2 separate regions of the Homo sapiens genome follow, and region 1 is linked to region 2. The links are contacts of gene promoters, found by promoter capture Hi-C in human tissues and cell types (Jung and others, 2019). All regions are on one chromosome and are shown on one strand. The core of a region is centred on a gene start or on the middle of the fragment in contact, and the rest is flanking DNA. Distances in the headings are between cores, read along the strand shown. Region 1 has its middle 20 kb from the start of TNFSF12. Region 2 holds the start of SPEM1 (spermatid maturation 1).

Region 1 (5,375 bases), core at 2,421-4,920, 110 kb before region 2:
TGAGATAGGGTCTCACCGGGCGCGGTGGCTCACACCTGTAATCCCAGCACTTTGGGAAGCTGAGGCGGGTAGATCACCTGAGGTCAGGAGTTTAAGACCAGCCTGACCAACACGGAGAAACCCTGCCTCTATTAAAAGTACAAAATTAGCCAGGCATTGTGACGCATGCCTCTAATTCCAGCTACTTGGGAGGCTGAGGCAGGAGAATCACTTGAACCCGGGAGGCCGAGGTTGTGGTGACCCAAGATCGTGCCATTGCACTCTAGCCTGGGCAATAAGAGTGAAACGCCATCTCAAAAAAAAAAAAAAAAAGAGAGACAGGGTCTCACTCTGTCACCCAGGCTGGAGTGCAGCAATGGAAACATGGCTCACTGCAGCCTTGACCTCCTTGGCTCAAGCAATCTTCCTGCCTCAGTCTCCTGAGTAGTTGGGACCACAGGTGCATGCCACCATGCTGAGCTAATTTTGTATTTTCATAGAGACGGAGTCGTGCCTTGTTGCCCAGGCTGGACTCAAACTCCTGAGATCAGGCAGTGCACCTGCCTCAGCCTCCCAAAGTGCTGGGATTATAGGCACGGGCCACCACGCACAGCCTTTTTCTTTGTTTGTTTGTGTTTTGTTTGCTTTTTTTTTTTTTGAAAAGGGGTCTCACTCTGTTGCCCAGGCTAGAGTGCAGTGGCGTGATCTCAGCTCACCACAACCTCTGCCTCCTGGGTTCAAGCAATTCTCGTGCTTCAGCCTCCCGAGTAAGTGGGACTACAGGCATGCGCCACCATGCCTGGCTAATTTTTGTATTTTTAGTAGAGACAGGGTTTCACTATGTTGGCCAGGCTGGTCTGGAACTCCTGACCTCGTGATCCACCCACCTTGCCCTCCCAAAGTGCTGGGATTACAAGCAGGAGCCACCGCACCCAGTTCTTTGTTTTTTTCATTCTGCTTTTTTTTTTTTTTTTTTTTTTTGCGGGGCGGGGGAGAGGGAATAAAAAAGTATACATGCGGTTTTGACTCTGCAGAGGGGTCAGTGTCTCTAATCCTTAGAGACACTGGTTCTTCAAGGGTCAACTCTAGTTTCTCTTAAGAGCAACAAGTTAAGCCATAAGCCAGCTAGATCACCAGAGGGAACTTAACTGATTGAGTGGTTAAGTTAAATATTAAAAGCCAGTGCCTTTTATATTTAAAGATATAAAATAGGGGAAAGATCCTAAGAAGAGCACTCTTGAGGTCAGAACAAAACTCAAAGACTTGCCTCAAAAACCATCCCTGCCAGAAATTAATTGAATCAGACTGTGGAGGAATTTATGCCTCAGGACATTGTCAAAAATAATAGAGCAATCAGCTTGCAGTTAGTGGAGCTTAACAGCTGGGTGTGGGGAAAGAGACAAAGAGAGCCCTGCTAAAACCACTATTATCTTACTGTGACTACAGGTACACTCAAGGCTACATCTTCTGAAGAATGACACCAAAGACTTCACAATATGGGGGAAATAGACTTCACTAAAATAATCTAGTCAAGTCACTAAGCAAACAAGCAAAAAACAACAGAAACAAGCCCTACAGAGAGGAAAGAGGAATTAGAGTTGCTAATATATTATTATCATTATTTTGAGATGAAGTCTCACTCTGTTGCCCAAGTTGGAGTGCAGTGATGCAATCTCAGCTCACTGCAACCTCAGCCTCCTGGATTTCAGTGATTCTCTTGCCTCAGCTTCCCGAGTAGCTGGGATTACAGGTGCGCCACCACGCCTGGATAATTTTTGTATTTTTAGTAGAGATGAGGTTTCCCCTTGTTGGCCAGGCTGGTTTTTAACTCCTGACCTCAGGTGATCTGTCCACCGTGGCCTCCCAAAGTGCTGGGATTACAGGTGTGAGCCACCATGCCCAGCCTAATATATTATTTTACATATCCAGTTTTAGGCCAAAAAAATTATTAAGATTTGCAAAGAAAAAAGAAAGCGTGACATATACACAGGAGCAAAAAAGTAGGCAACAAAAACTGCCCGTGAGAGAGCCCAGACATTTGATTTAATGGAAAAGATTTCAAAGCACTTATTATAAATATGTTCAAATAACTAAGGAAACCATGCTTCAAGAAGTAATGAAGACTAGGCACAGTGGCTCATGCCTACAATCCCAGCACTTTGGGAGGTTGAGGCAGGAGGATCACTTGAGCCCAGGAGTTTGAGAACAGCCTGGTCAACATAATGAGACTCTGTCTCAAAATAATAATAATAATAATAATTAATTAATAAAAATTAAAATTGGCTGGGTGCAGTGGCTCATGCCTGTAATCCCAGCAATTTGGGAGACTGAGGCAGGCAGATCACCTGAGGTCAGGAGTTCGAGACCAGTCTGGCCAACATGGCAAAACCCCATCTCTACTAAAATACAAAAATTATCCGGGTGTGGTGGTGCACGCCTGTAATCCCAGCTACTCGAGAGGCTGAGGTGGGAGGATTGCTTGAACCCAGAAGGTGGAGGTTGCAGTGAGCTGAGATCACACCACCGCACTCCAGCCTGGGCGACAGAGTGAGACTGTCTCCAAACAAAACAAAACAAAACAAAACGAAACAAAAAAACCCAGAAATTCTATGTGTGAAGTATGAACATATTGACTAAATTCAAAAGGGTGTTATATGGTTTTTCTGTAAGTTGAGCATTGAAATAAAAGCACAACAAGACACTCATAAGGCACTAATCTGCTCTTTAACAAAATTTGTAAAGGGTTATAAAAGGTTTTTGCTCTTTTAAATTTCTGAGTCATTTTAGCAAAATAAATAACTTGTGGTAATTTGGAATTCTATTTCATAACATCAAGTGTTTTAAACCTCTAACATATTTAACAGGCTTCCAGAAATTAAACTTCCATTACAAAATTGCCTTTCCTGATGGCTGGCTTTTGGATGCTACAGAGGGCCCCTGCAGTATCCAAAAGAGAGGTAAACAGAATTATTTGACAAGTTTAGTTACATGGGATTGCCAAAATGGTGTCCAATCTTCTTTAGGTTATATTCTGGTGAATAATACTAATGTATGTTCCAAAATTGTGTGGGATTTCTAAAATTCTAATGTCTAAAGTATATGCTATCAGTCATAATTAAGGTTGTTAAGTTATTGTAAACCACAGAGATAACCAAAGTTCTTTGTCAATTGTGTTTCTAACTGTAACTACCCTGGACATTTTGTTATTCACAGACAATTGTTGTCTTGTTTTGATCCTTTTCATAAGCTACAGGACTCTGCAGCCATAAAAAGAATGGGTTCATGTCCTCTCCAGGGACATGGATGAAGCTGGAAACCATCATTGTCAGCAAACTAACACAGGAACAGAAAACCAAACACCACATGTTCTTACTCATAAGTGAGAGTTGAACAATGAGAACACATGGACACAGGGAGGGGAACATCACACACTAAGGCCTGTCAGGGAGTGGGGGACAAGGGGAGGGAGAGCATTAGGACAAATACCTAATGCATGTGGGGCTTAAAACCTAGATGATAGGCTGGGTACGGTGGCTCACGCCTGTAATCCCTGCACTTTGGGGGGCCGAGGCGAGCAGATCACCTGAGGTCAGGAGTTCATGACCAGGCTGACCAACATGGAGAAACCCCGTCTCTACTAAAAGTACAAAATTAGCCGGGTATGGTGGCACATGCCTGGAATCCCAGCTACTTGGGAGGCTGAGGCAGGAGAATCACTTGAACCCGGGAGGTGGAGCTTGTGGTGAGCCAAGATCACATGCCATTGCACTCCAGCATGGGCAACAAGAGCGAAATTCCGTCTCTCTCTCTCTCTCTCTCTCACACACACACACACACACACACACACACAACAAAAAACAAAAAACCTAGATGACAGGTTGATAGGTGTAGCAAACCACCATGGCACATGTATACCTATGTAACAAACCTGCATGTTCTGCACATGTATCCAAGAACTTAAAGCAAAATTAAAAAAAAAAATAAGCTATAGGACTCTGACAAGTATGCTCAAATATCAGTTTCTGATAACTTTGGAGATTGTGACATTGGCACACAGGAAAAATGTACAGGACTCATGAAGAGCTGAAATGTTCATGAATATCAAGCAAAACAAGAGTTAACTGAATGGACTGAACTAATAGAAAACTGAAGTAATCTTCTGGACTTTTGCTTGGAACATTGCTGATCCTTGTTTCATTTTTCAGAGTCGAGGAAAATTATTAGGAATTATTTACAGCCTTTAATAATTGAGTAGGGTGGCCAGGCGCGGTGGCTCACGCCTGTAGTCCCAGCACTTTGGGAGGCCAAGGCGGGTGGATCACGAGGTCAGGAGATCGAGACCATCCTGGCTAACACGGTGAAACCGTGTCTCTACTAAAAATACAAAAAATTATCAGGGTGTGGTGGCAGGCGCCTGTAGTCCCAGCTACTCGGGAGGCTGAGGCAGGAGAATGGCATGAACCCGGGAGGCGGAGCTTGCAGTGAGCTGAGATCACGCCACTGCACTCCCACCTGGGCCACAAAGCGAGACTCCGTCTCAAAAAAAAAAAAAATTGAGTAGGGTATACTCCTGTGAACAAAATTTGGAGCATGTTTGTTTCTCTCTGCCTGGTTCCTCTAGAATTTAGAAACTATCTATGAGTATTCATAACTTATGACAATATAGTTGTTTGTATCAGTGCAGTAAGAATCCATTTTCTTTTGCAACAGGATGCAATTGGAGAAACTGGTTGTTTTACCAAGGCTTTGACTGGAATGGTATGCTTCCCTTTAAGGAGTCAATCTCAACTTGCAGAGCCAATAAAAGTCCTTTGGTAAAACTGGCTTCATGCCCTTGTCTACACAGTCTCCATACAGGGTTCCTAACCTGCAATGAGTAAAGAATGTCACTTTCCAACAGGCCCAGAAAACACATGCTCTTGGGACCTCAAGAAGAGAGGAGTTTACCCAACTCACAGGTATTTGAGGATACAAACTCATGGCTGGCCTGAGCTTTAAAAGGTCTTATCTGAAATTCCTTGTGGAACAGAGTTCCATCAAAGTCAATCTAAAAGGCCTATGTAGAAATAATTATTTTTGCTGCACTTTATGCAAATAATCAGGCCAAGTATAAGATTAAAGTCGATTTTGCAAACAACTGAGTTCTAACTTGATTTGTTTTTAACAGAAATGAGGACTAGAAGGCTGGGCATGGTGGCTCATGCCTGTAAACCCACCACTTTGGGAGGCCAAAGTGGGTGGATCACCTGGTATCAGGAGTTCAAGACCAGCCTGGCCAACATGGTGAAACCCCGTCTCTACTGAAAATATTAAAAATTAGCCAGGTGTGGTGGTGTGCGCCTGTAGTCCCAGCTACTCGGGAGGCTGAGGAACGAGAATCTCTTGAACCGAGGAGG
Region 2 (5,067 bases), core at 1,806-4,305:
CGCCCGGCTAATTTTTTGTTTTCATATTTTTAGTAGAGATGGGGTTTCACCATGTTAGCCAGGATGGTCTCAATCTCCTGACCTTGTGATCTGCCCGCCTCGGCCTCCCAAAATGCTGGGATTACAGATGTGAGCCACCACGCCCGGCCTTTTTTTTTTTTTTTGATGGAGTCTCGCTCTGTCGCCCAGGCTGGGGTGCAGGGGCGCCATCTTGGCTAACTGCAACCTCTGCCTCCCACGTTCACACCATTCTCCTGCCTCAGCCTCCCAAGTAGCTGGGACTACAGGCGCCCACCATCATGCCCAGCTAATTTTTTTATTTTTTATTTTTCATTTTTTAGTAGAGACGGGGTGTCACTGTGTTAGCCAAGAGGTCTCGACCTCCTGACCTCGTGATCCGCCCGCCTCGGCTTCCCAAAGTGCTGGGATTACAGGCGTTAGCCACTGCGCCCAGCCAAGGGGGCCCCAATATTTCCTCCTCTGCTCCAATCCTGCTTAAGGGTATAGGACCTTCAGGGTGACTGGGGAACTGTGAAGGACTAGACGCCCTCTCAGCCATCCCTCCCCAAATAAATCAGGGCTTACGTGGGAACCAGGCCTCACCGGTGGCTGCAGCCTAACGCTGGGCTCTGGCAGGCACCAGCCTTCTGAGGAGCTAGGGCCATGGAGATGGAGATCTCTCCTCTAGTGCACGACTGCCTGGGGACCTGGGGTAGAATTTAGGGGCTTCTCTGTGCACTAAAGAAAACAAGGAATTAACTGGGCGTGGTGGTGCCTGTTGTCCCAGCTACTCAGGAGGCTGAGGCAGGAAGACTGCTTGAGCTCAGGAGGTTGAGTCTCCAGTGAGCCATGATTGCACCACTGCCCTCCAGCCTGAGTGACAGATCAAGACCCTGCCTCAGGGGAGGGGGAGGAAACAGTCCGGGCACAGTGGCTCACACCTGTAATCCCAGAACTTTCAGAGGTTGAGGCAGGCAGATCGATTGAGCCCAGGAGTTTGAGACCAGCCTAGGCAAAGTAGTGAAACCCAATCTCTACAAAAAATAGTGGTGCGGCTGGGGTGGGGTGGCTCACACCTGTTATCCCAGCACTTTGGGAGGCTGAGGCGGGCGGATCACCTGAGGTCAGGAGTTCAAGACCAGCCTGGCCGACATGGCAAAACCCCATCTGCACTAAAAATACAAAAATTAGCAGGGCATGGTGGCACACGCCTGTAGTCCCAGCTACTCAGGAGGCTGAAGGCAGGAGAATTGGTTGAACCTGGGAGGCAGAGGTTGCAGTGAGCCAAGATTGTGCCATTGCAGTCCAGTGTGGGTGACAAGAATAGGACTCTGTCTTAAAAACAAAAACAACCCCCCCCACACAAAAACCAACCAACCGAACAAACAACAACAACAACAACAAACTAGTGGCCCATGCCTGTAGTCCTAGTGACTCAGGAGGCTGAGGTGGGAGACAGTTGGGACTGCAGTGAACTGTGATTGCACCACTGCACTCCAGCCCGGGCAACAGAGAAGACCCTGTCTCAAAAAAAAAAAAAAATTGAAAACAAGGTAGAGGCAGGTAAGAGCCTTGGAACCCAGAAGGGCCTAGGAAAGGCTGAGGACAGGGACAGGCCTGTGGGGCAAAAGGTTAATGAGGGTCCTCAGGGCTCAGGGCCCTGTGGCTAGGGAGAGCATTCTCTTCACAGCCACAGCTTCTAGGTGCTGTGTGGGCCCTGGCACCCCAGCACCACCACAGATCACCTCCTCTCTCCTTTTTATTTTTTTCCAGTCACCTCCCAGTTAGGGAACGGTACACCCAATTCTTGCTTGTCTCCTCGGCAGTGCTGGATCCAGAGGCTAGGGGGTAGCAGCCGGACAGGGCCTCCACCTCCCGGGTCAGTTCCCGAAGCCGCCGTCTCATGTCCCGGGCATCATACACTATTCGGCCTGAGGAGCGGTGCCGGGAAAATTCAGGGATGACTGCTGGGCCCAGGGTGGGAGCTGGGACAGGCTGGTACTGAGCCGCCTCTGCCTCTGGCACCGCCCCCTCCCCACCGTTCTTGTGGCTAGGAGCCTCAGGGCTGGGAGGTGGGGGGTTCACAGGATACACATAGGCCCTTAGGCCCAGCTCGGACCATATGCCTGTTTTGAGGGGCCTTTCCTCTACGGTAGGCTGGAAGCGGATGGTCTGGGGAGGGGACTCTGGGGCATCCTGAGACCAGGGAACCCAGGTCCCCTGAGTGTGTTGGAAGCCTTCCCAGTCCTCAGGGACATCCCAGTGGTAGGAGCAGATGGCTGGGTACTGATGAGGCTTCTCGTCATCAGTGTCAGGAGCCCAAGCTACTGGGCAGTGAGCACAGCGTGTGGGAGAGCCTCGACGGCGATGGCGGTGAGCTGGGGGCGGGGACACAGTCATCATCACAGGGTCCATGGTGCACCGAAGATGGACTGCAGGAGAACTCTGCTTCTTAGGGGGCTGGGTCTGCTTTCTGAGTAATGATGACTTGGGAGCTTCTGTGGATGGGGGAGAGGTGAGACTAGTGGGGAGGCCAGCTCCTACAGGCATGGAGAGGCAGGGCCCAGGAAGGGCAGCCACACAGCTATGTTGTCTGAGAGGGGCGAGCAAGAAGGGAAGGGGCTAATTTAGGGCTGAGGCTAGAGCACTTGGTTTCTGCCCCTCCTATGTCCCAGCCCCCAGACCTCTTACCTTTCTCACAAATGGTATCATGGAACACTTGGTATAAGACACCACGGAATCGGCTCCAGAGCTAGGTGGGGGAAGACACAGTGATCCCAGGTAGGCCCTGGCCGGCAGGCCTGCCCCCCACTATCCCACCAGCTCCCTCCCATCTGGCCCCACCCTGACCAGGGTCACTATATTGATGCTAATGTTAATGCAGATGATGAGGCCCAGCAGCAACAGGACAGAGTTGCCCAGGTCCTGGCAGCTGTTGCTGTTGCAGTTGTGATACGAGGCCCACTCGGGCCTCGGCCGCTCAACCATGGCCATGGGGTCCCTAGGACCACCGGGGCCCTTACGCCCCCAGCCCACCGTGCCGACAGTGTCCACTGACTGCCTGCCTGTCCCTGAGGGTCTTGGGAGTGAACGGGTCACAATGGTGCCAGGCCACTCCCTTCCAGTGTGCCAAGGGGCTACCCTGAGTCCTGGACCCGTGGCTGACCCTCTCGCCTGAGTCCAGGCCTTGGCAGAGGCCATGCCTCTCACCTCACATACCTCTGCTGAGCTAGCTGCCTACACCAGCCCACTGGGCCTCTGGCCTGTTTGACATCTGCCCCCATCAGCCTTTGTCCTTCCATTATAGAACGACACCAGGCTCCAGTCTCGGCATAGACACGGGTCCTGACATTCATTTGCCAAACAGACCCATTACCATGGCAACCAGACCCCAGCACACACTCCCCCTTCCTCTCAGACCTCAGAGCTGGTCACTGAAAAGACCCCTCCTCCCTCGTCACTTCCCCAGGGCTTGTTTCTTTAGAGACCGCCCTCCCCACAACAGAGCAGGCACAACCAACAGTTAAACTTTTATATTTACAATATTCTCTTCATCTTTTGCCAGGTTTAAAAATGTGTACAGAGCCGCAAAGGGTTGGGGTAGGGATAAGGGATTGTCGGGATTGTTTTGGGGAGAGGAGCTGGGCATTGGAGTCCGTGGCTGAATCATGGGGTCCCCCAGCCCCCCTCCCATGCCCCAATTCTGAGGGCATCTGTCTACAGGGTTCAGGGCCCAGGTCTCTAGCATTTGGAGGGCATGGCTGTTTGGAGAGGAGCTAGACCAGGCAGGGGAAAGGATCAGAAAATAACTAATTTTCCATGGATGGAGGTAGGAAGAGAAGGGACAGTCAAGAGGCAAAGTTCTGGGGACTCAAGACCAGGGATTCTGGATTTGGGTGTCAGTGGAAGACAGCACCCCAGCCCCTATTCAAGTTTGGCACTAACACCCCACAAAATGCCAGCAGATGAGGACTCTCCCCTCGTCCACTGTGTCCCTTAAGCCCTTCCAGACATCATTCTTTTCCCAAATGCCCAAGCCCAAGGCCCTCCGGGGAGTCACCTCACACATTTCAAATTATTCCTGCTGGTGTCTGCCCAAGCCCTGTCCCCACTGCCCCCTCCATCTGTTCCCCAGCACCGCTGACCTCATTCTCCCAACCTGTCCGGTGAGACCTTTCTCCCCACTGCCTCCCTCCACCATTCAAGGCTCCTTTCTTTCAGACAAGGAGGGGGCGTGGGTCAGAGGAGGGTGGTCAGCTGAGGAGAAGGCTGGTCTGACACTGAGATGGGGACAGCTTCAAAGAGGGGGACGGAGATGAAGGGGAACGGAGAACTGAGGCAGGGTGGGGGAGACATGGTGAGGAGAAGGGGCACAGGCGGGAGCCCCCTCACCTGCCACATCCCTCGCCCTGTATCCTGCTTGCCCTTAGTTTCCCCTGCCCTGCCTGGGACTGGGAAATTCTTGGCACATTTTGGGAGTCTTTCCGCTCAAATCCACCTACCCAGTTTGGCACGGATGAGCAATGCTCTGAGGCCTGGGGAAAAGGCTGTCCTCGGACCACAATGAGGGCTTTGGTCAAACATGCGTGGCCTCTGCGGGGGGCACGTTGCCACACCCCCTCCCCCCAACTCGGGAGCAAGGGCCGGGCCTCCCTCGGGGTTTGTTCACCCTCCTCAGCTCCTGCCAACTAGAAGTCTGTGCTCACCTGCCATGTGAGGAGGAACTGGGTGCTGGGCCTGAGGCCTGGGGGAGGCAGGGAAGTGCTGGGAAGAGAGGGGCCGTCTGCCTGGGGAAACACACATCCACATGCAAGAACCTGTTTCCACTCAGAGAAATGCGTCCTGGCCACGGGAAAATAAGCTTCCAGGCAGCATCAGGATGCGTGGACTCCTCCCTCCCCCAGCAGGAAATCTGTGTCTGTCCTCTCTGGAAGGTGAGGGCCTCCCCGGCAGAACGTGCTTCATCTGACTTGTGCCAAGGGGGGCGTCGGGGGGAACATGCTTCGCCGGGGTAGGGGCAAGGGAGGCAGGGGCGAGGGGGCTGTGATTTCCTCGCTGCTTCCCAGG

Evidence for each region. The method cuts DNA at HindIII sites, captures the fragments that hold promoters and counts their contacts. A contact is called where the count stands out against the background at its distance.
Region 1: a contact is called between a fragment that was not itself captured here and the fragment with the promoter of SPEM1 in region 2, in 2 of the 25 tissues and cell types used here (IMR-90 fibroblasts and spleen).

The regions. Positions count from the first base shown.
Region 1 is chr17:7,526,461-7,531,835 of GRCh38, reverse strand. No RefSeq gene overlaps it. Among named protein-coding and RNA genes, the nearest start is that of TNFSF12, 20 kb to the left of the region's middle. The HindIII fragment of the contact is 5,415 bases long and covers 963-5,375 here.
Region 2 is chr17:7,418,312-7,423,378 of GRCh38, reverse strand. SPEM1 (spermatid maturation 1) reads right to left here and starts at 3,055. Exons shown (of 3, transcript NM_199339.3): 1 at 2,851-3,055; 2 at 2,692-2,752; 3 at 1,747-2,498. The coding sequence starts at 2,994. The coding sequence ends at 1,774. It overlaps NLGN2 (neuroligin 2), which reads right to left. Exons shown (of 7, transcript NM_020795.4): 7 at 3,519-5,067. RefSeq lists an enhancer at 3,052-3,571. The HindIII fragment of the contact is 17,952 bases long and covers 1-5,067 here.